2 separate regions of the Homo sapiens genome follow, and region 1 is linked to region 2. Evidence: promoter capture Hi-C in human tissues and cell types (Jung and others, 2019). All regions are on one chromosome and are shown on one strand. The core of a region is centred on a gene start or on the middle of the fragment in contact, and the rest is flanking DNA. Distances in the headings are between cores, read along the strand shown. Region 1 overlaps ALOX12 (arachidonate 12-lipoxygenase, 12S type). Region 2 holds the start of AURKB (aurora kinase B).

Region 1 (3,865 bases), core at 350-2,849, 1.2 Mb before region 2:
CCCTGTTTGAAGCTGACTTCATCCTTCTGGATGGAATTCCAGCCAACGTGATCCGAGGAGAGAAGCAATACCTGGCTGCCCCCCTCGTTATGCTGAAGATGGAGCCCAATGGGAAGCTGCAGCCCATGGTCATCCAGGTAAGGGCCCCAGACCTCTCCCACAACGTTGCACTCTGTTCACCTCAACCTCTGCTCCCAGGGACCCAACCCCCAGCTCTTGGCTCCCAAACCCCATCCTCACTCAGTGAGACTTGTCTTCATGTCACTATTTGCCTGTACCCTCGTCTCCCCTGCCTCATCCAACTAGAATTACTTTTTCAAGAGTCAAAATGGCCTCCTGGAGTTCTCATCCTGTATCCAATGGTCCTCACACTTCAGTGTGCATCAGAATCACCTGAATGCCTGTTGAAATGCAGATTTCTGGATCCCATGACCAGACTTTCTGATTCAGTATGTCTGGGGTGGGAACTAAGAGTTTGCGTTTTTATAAGTTCCAAAGTGATGCTGACACTACCAGTTCAGGACTACACTTTCAGAATCACTATCTCATCTCTCAGTGGCCTCTGGCTCTGAACCCTCGCCATCTCTTGAATATCTTTTCTCGCAATTTCTTTTTTTTTTTTGAGACAGAATCTCACTGTGTCACTCAGGCTGGAATACAGTTGTGTGATCTTGGCTCACTGCAACCTGCGCCTCCTGGGTTCAAGCAATTCTCCCACCTCAGTCCCTCCAGTAGCTGGGACCACAGGCATGTGCCACCATGTGGGCCTGGCTAATTTTTGTATTTTTTGTAGAGATGGGGTTTCGCCATATTGCCCAGGCTGGTCTTGAACTTCTGGGCTCAAGTAATCTGCCTGCCTCGGCCTCCCAAAGTGCTGGGATTACAGGTGTGAGCCACTGCACCTGGCCTTCTCTCACTATTCTTAACAGTCAGGTGACAAGAACTGTCAATAATCTTACACCTCCTACTTCTCCTTCACATTCCACCACCATCTGAGCGCCGACCCCAAAGCAGCAGGTTTCTCCCACACCACTGTTAGGGCCTCCTTCTGGACCCCCTTCTTCCAGTCCCTCCTGCCTTCCACCTGACATCAGGGCACTCCAGCTAGCGAGCGGCAGGCTGGGAGGGTTCACAGTCCTCCTGCTAGACTATAACCTCCTAGAAGGCAATAATCTTACTTAGTCATCTCTGTTTCCCCAAGAATGCTGACTATAATGTCATATACGGAATGGGAGTTCAATAATTTCTCTTTCTCCCAGATTCAGCCTCCCAACCCCAGCTCTCCAACCCCAACACTGTTCCTGCCCTCAGACCCCCCACTTGCCTGGCTCCTGGCAAAGTCCTGGGTCCGAAATTCAGATTTCCAACTGCACGAGATCCAGTATCACTTGCTGAACACTCACCTGGTGGCTGAGGTCATCGCTGTCGCCACCATGCGGTGCCTCCCAGGACTGCACCCCATCTTCAAGGTACTTATTAATCTATTAAATCACATATCCCTCAGACCCCAGAGAGAGGAACAGCCCCATATCAAAAGATATTGCAGCAGCAAAAACTCTTTGTAGCAATTTGTGAGTGAAGAGGAGACTGTCTCAATATCTTGAGATGTTGATTTTAATTAAGTTTATTAAGTTTAGTCACTTAACATTATATAGGAATCCTCTGAAATTCTCAGAGATCTGACAGTCTAGCAGTGCGCTCACAGTAGGGCTTGAACACTGCTAGTAAAACAAAAGCCATATTCCTACCTTAGATCTAGTATTTAGCCAGAAAAACAAGTGATGCCCATAAGAACCAACCAGAGAACAGTATCTGGTACTAGAGTTTGAAATCACAAGGGACAGCCTATAACAGTATAGTATTGATGAAGAATGTTTCTACCCAATTGAGGAGTCAGCTAAGTAGAAACAGACCAAAAGGCAAGGAAGAACAGCCAGCAAGCCGCTCATACCTGCCCAACAGTAAGGTGGATAGAGATGTATGTTAGCATGGTAATGACAGGAATGAAAAGGAAAGAATCTAAAACGTAGTGAAGGGAGGAAATGGTAGCTGCAGCGTGCCTGGGTGCAAGAGAGAGAAAAGCCAGAAGTCCAAGCTTCTGCCACACCTGTAAGTCCCTGGGGCAGGTGTGTTATACTGACCTAGAAATACTGTGGTTTTAAGAGCTGGGTGTGGTGGTTCACGCCTGTAATCCCAGTGCTTTGGGTGGCCAAAGCAGTATGATTGCTTAAGACCAGGAGTTCAAGACCAGCCTGGGCAACACAGCAAGTCCCGGTCTCTAAATAAAAAGAAAGAAAGAAAGAAATACTGTAATTTTATAAAACAGTGAGTTCCATATATATTGCTGGGAGAAGGCAAAATAAGACCTGTGCTTGCTTAAGAAAATGTTCTTAAAATCTTGATGATACTTTATATACAGGGAACTTGGCAGAGGGAGCACAAAAATGATACAAGCTTACAAACCAGAGTAATTGTCAGAAACAGTAAAGTTAGAAGAAACCAGAGTCAGCAAAAATGAGGTGTTTGGTTTTAGGTACATGGAGTTTGATGTATTGGCAAGATATGCAAGTATGTCCTGGGTAAAAACAACCAAATTGTGTTTCAGCTGGGGGCCTCCACCAAGACCCCCCAAGCCTGGCCAGTATAGCTGTGCCGCCTCTGGAATTTTCCCCTTCGGTAACATAGACAAGATGGAGACCAGTCTGATGAATGGAATCTTGGATTTCATTCATCTCATGCTGTCTCCTGCTTCCCCATCCTCTGCTCCACACGAACAAGTGAAGCCTCTATTCACACTTACAATTCCGTTTCCTAGTTCAGTCCTCTCCGTGTCTCCACTCACCACAGTAATGCCATGCCCCAGCGGACAGCTGAGTTGCTGGCAGATGCACACAAGGGTCAAGCCTGCACATGTCTTAACAGTGGCCTATGCAGGCTCTGACTTTGGATTGCTGGGGTCTTAGTCCTGAACCCCGGCCTCAATAATTTCCAGATGTCCTCACATGTTCCATCGTGAGGTTATTAAAGGTTAAAATGACTTAATGGTGTGACACAAGCTAAATGCTACAAAAAACATTAGTTCTTGCAAATTTTTTTTTTTCAGAGACAAGTTCTCACTCTGTCACCCAGGCTGGAGTCCAGTGGCGTAATCATAACTCACTGCAGCTTCAAACTCCTGGGCTGAAGCGATCCTCTAACCTCAGCCTTCAGAGTAGCTGGGACTACAGGTGTGCACCACCATGCCTGGCTAATTTTTTTTATTTTTTGTAGAGACAGGGTTTCACTATGTGGCCCAAGCTAGTCTCAAATTCCTGGGCTCAAGCGATCCTCCTGCCTCAGTCTCCCAAGTAACCTGGATTGCAGGCACATGCCGCCACACCCAGCTAGTTCTTGCAATTATTATTATTAAGGACTGTTTATCCTTAGGCATCCTTTCTCCTCATGTGGACTTTGGCCTTTCCGTGACATTTGGCATCTTTCATGAATCTTCTGAAAAGCTTCAGGTTAATGTGAGCTGCTTTGGTATCTTAACACCAAAGGTGTCATTGGGGTCATTGCCAGTGTCCAGCATCAACAATTCAGACAAGCACCAAAACTGCTTGAAACCTGCATGTTAACTATGTGGAAAGGAAGACAAACAGTCTAAGATAAAAAGAAACGCATGTAAGGACCATGCCTTTTTTAATAGCTAAGGAAAATATTTTAATATTTTTAATTTAATAAATTTTAATTTATTAAAATTAAAATTTTAATTTAATATTAAATTAAAATTTTAATTTTAATTTTAAATAAATAATTAAAATTTAAATAAATTTAAATTTAAAATTTAAATTTAATTTTAAATAAACATTTAAATTTTTAATTT
Region 2 (3,598 bases), core at 633-3,132:
TTTCACTTCTTTGGCCCTGGCCCACACTTTTCAGGCATGAAGCTGTTCAACCTGTATAAGTCCTGTCCATAACAACACAGTCATTCATCCAGCCCCTCACTTACACCACAGTAGAGAGCTGCGTCAATGAACACCCACAATTCAAGGGGTTTAGCACAGAGGTATTCTCAAAGTCTCCTAAAAAGCTTAGTTTATTAAGGCTTAGATAAGATGCTTGAGGCCTTGAATGTTATAGCAATAACCAGGATTTACACTTTTGCAAGAACAGGCTTTAAGGACACTAAGAGCTACCCTGATGGCCCTGGACCACTTCTCACTTTCAACTTCTTCATTTTTTTTTTTTTTTGAGATGGAGTCTCGCTCTATTACCCAGGCTGGAGTGCAATGGTGCCATCTCGGCTCACTGCAACCTCCACCTCCCAGGTTCAGGCAATTCTCCTGCCTCGGCCTCCTGAGTAGGTGGGATTACAGGCACATGCCTGGCTAATTTTTGTATTTTTAGTAGAGACGGGGTTTTACCATGTTGGCCAGGCTGGTCTCGAACTCCTGACCTCAGGTGATCCACCTGCCTCAGCCTCCCAGTGCTGGGATTACAGGCGTGAGCCACCTACCTGGCCTCACTTTCAACTCTCAAAATAATAGGTACATTTTCTTTTAGGAGTGACTAAGGTAAAAGTGACAATGGTTTCTCATTCAGACTCCATTCCTGACAGCCTCACTCAGTGCTCCATGAGGGAGGGAGCTGATGTACAAGGGAACAGACAGACTCTCCAGGAAGCAAGAGCTCCAAAAACAGGGAGCAAAGCCTGTGCAGGGCCCCTTCCTTCTTCTGCAGCCAAGAGAAGAAAGCCCCTAGGCCCCAAATAGTGATATTGGTACCAATCTACAAATAAGCAAGTTGAATAAAATACAGTCCAGAAATAGACCCACATATATGTGGGAATTTATATATATAATAAAGGTGGCATTTCAAATCAGAGAGGAGGCCCTTCAATGAAATCTGTCTGGACCATTGGGAAATAAGTCAATTTAGATCCATTTAGATTCTTACCTCAATTTAGTCATTAATTCCAAATTGTAATTTAGACTTGCCCTGGGCCTTTTAAACTGTAACTTTATATCCTTTTAGAGTCTATTTCTATTTGCTGTCTAGTTTTTTTTTTTTCAGGATATGGATTGGGAATCATGGCCTGAAGGCCAGGCCCTGCCTGCTCAGTCCCAGATATCATTTGTATGTGACGAGCCCTGCAGAGGTCCTCACCAGCTGGGAGTCACTGGCTGGTCAGATTCACGTTGGCAGCACCTGACAGGATGTGGCTACAAATGACCAGAGCGGGTTCTGTCGTCAAACTTGGGACCCGTACTTTGGAGCATAACGGGGAAGAAAGTGCTTAAAGGATTGCTCATTGCAGGATCTCAAGTTTCCCAGCAGGAACTCGCCATGCGGGGTCATGGGGGCGCAGGGACGGAGGGAAGGGCCTTACCGTCTGTCGGCCGTAGGGCCAGGGGTAGGAGTTCTCCTTCTGGGCCATCCTTAGAGAGAAAGGGGGAGGAGAGCTGGGCGGAGAAGGGAAACAGCCGTGAGAAGCAGAGAAAAAGAGAGAGAGAGGGAGGGGTTGGACCGATCGAGCCGGAAGCGCTAGCCCGAGCTGGTAAAAGGGAGCAGGTCAGCACACTAGCCCCAATCTGGGCGCTGGTCTCACCGCCCCCGCCCTGCTATCGTCCCTACCTCCTTCCAGCCCTGCGGCGTGCGCGCAGGCCAGCCCAACGGACCCTCTGATCTACCTGATCATCTGCCCACTCCCGGCGCAAGGCCTGCGACAGGAGGCCAGCTCACCTGGGGTCCAAGGCACTGCTACTCTCCCGGCCGCCCGCAAACAACTGAATCTGCCACGCCGCGCCCTGGCCAAGGACTTTTCAAATCTCCCGCCCCGGCCCCATTGGGCAAGCTCGTCGCCCATGCCTAGTTCCCATTGGCTCGATGTCCTGTGACGTAAGTCATGGGAACCCAATGGAAGAGGCGGAATGAGAAGGGCTCACGCTTGGCTTCCAGTTTAGGAAAGTTTCCCCAAATTCCCCCAGTGAATTATCTTGCTTTTTCTTTTCTTTTTTTTTTTCCTTTTTTGAGACAGGTCTCTCTCTGTCGCTCAGGCTGGAGTATAATGGTGCTATCTGGGCTTGCTGCAACCTCTGCCTCCCGGGTTCAAGCGATTCTCGTGCCTCAGCCACCCGAGTAGCTGGGATTACAAGCGCCCGCCACCACGCCTGGCTAATTTTTGTATTTTTATTAGAGACGGGTTTTCGCTGTGTTGGCCAATCTGGTCTCGAACTCCTGTCCTCAGGTGATCCACCCGCCTCGGCTTCCCAAAATGCTGGGATTACAGGCGTGAGCCACCGTGCCCGGCCTTCTTCTTTTTATAAAAAAAATTAAATCTTTAATGTAACTGGAGTTTATCCTTATGCATGTATGAGCTGGGGTCTAACTTCTCTGCCCGATGGAGCGCCAGTTATGTCAACACCATTTGTTAAACAAACTGCCCCAACAGAATTTAAATGCTGCCCTTGATATATAATGTTAGCATATTTACTTGTGTCTATTTCTAGACTTTGTATTCCGTTGTTTGCTCATTTGCCTGTGTGTTTATTCTTGTGTCATTACTATGTCGTTCTTAAAAGTTCTGACATTCCTGGGAGGAGTTTTTCCACCAATAGACCTTTCGTTGCAAGATCTCTGTTAGCTGCCGTGTTGTTTGGGCCCACTTTCATTTTTCCTCCTTCCTGCCACACTTCCTTCTTTTCTGCTCTTCCTAACCCTCAGATTTCATTACTGGGTTAAATAAATACATTTTTGGGCCTTCTATGAAATAACCAGTGGATATTTATTAAGTATGTACTGTCCAGCACTCTTCTCCTTTCTTCTAACACTCTATTTTTCCTTTAGGGGACCACCTGTCTCTCCAGTCTATGCAGTCGGTTTCTGTAGTAGTTTCTGTTGCTGACAACCCCAAATCCCTAGGTTGATGAAGACCTATTTAAATCTCACTTTTTTTTTTTTTTTTGAGATGAAGATTCGCTGTGTTGCCCAGGCTGGAGTGCAATGGCACAATCTCAGCTCACCACAACCTCCTCCTCCAGGGTGCAACTGATTCTCCTGTCTCAGCCTCCCGAGTACCTAGGATTATAGGTGCATGTGACCACGCCCGGCTAATTTTTGTATTTTTAGTAGAGACGGGGTTTCATCACATTGCTCAGGCTGGCCTCAGGTGATCCGCCCGCCTTGGTCTCCCAAAGTGCTTGGATTACAGGCGTGAGCCACTGCGCCCAGCTTTATTCCCACTTCTGAAAGCACTTAGAGTTTTGAGGATTTGAGAAGGAAACTGACTTCATTGCAGGTCCAGAAATGAGCCCCAATTAACTTATACTAATCAATACCTTTTATTCCAGATTATGGTTATTGGATCAGGCATAAGCCTGTGATTTAAGTGGGCCAGCTAGTGGGAATCAGTTTCTTGCTCAGAATGCTGGGCAGCTCAAGGAAACACTTAACGTTTACTGGTTTATCATAAAGTGTATTACAAATGATATAGATGAAAAGATG

The links. The method cuts DNA at HindIII sites, captures the fragments that hold promoters and counts their contacts. A contact is called where the count stands out against the background at its distance.
Region 1: a fragment that was not itself captured here is called in contact with the fragment with the promoter of AURKB in region 2 in 1 of the 25 tissues and cell types used here (pancreas).

What each region holds. Positions count from the first base shown.
Region 1 is chr17:7,000,343-7,004,207 of GRCh38, forward strand. It overlaps ALOX12 (arachidonate 12-lipoxygenase, 12S type), which reads left to right. Exons shown (of 14, transcript NM_000697.3): 7 at 1-137; 8 at 1,260-1,469. All of the region lies in intron 2 of ALOX12-AS1 (ALOX12 antisense RNA 1), which reads right to left. Among named protein-coding and RNA genes, the nearest start is that of ALOX12, 6.2 kb to the left of the region's middle. The HindIII fragment of the contact is 2,751 bases long and covers 225-2,975 here.
Region 2 is chr17:8,208,693-8,212,290 of GRCh38, forward strand. It overlaps AURKB (aurora kinase B), which reads right to left and starts at 1,883. Exons shown (of 9, transcript NM_004217.4): 1 at 1,838-1,883; 2 at 1,485-1,557. The coding sequence starts at 1,532. RefSeq lists enhancers at 1,115-1,774, 1,336-1,385. The HindIII fragment of the contact is 18,109 bases long and covers 1-3,598 here.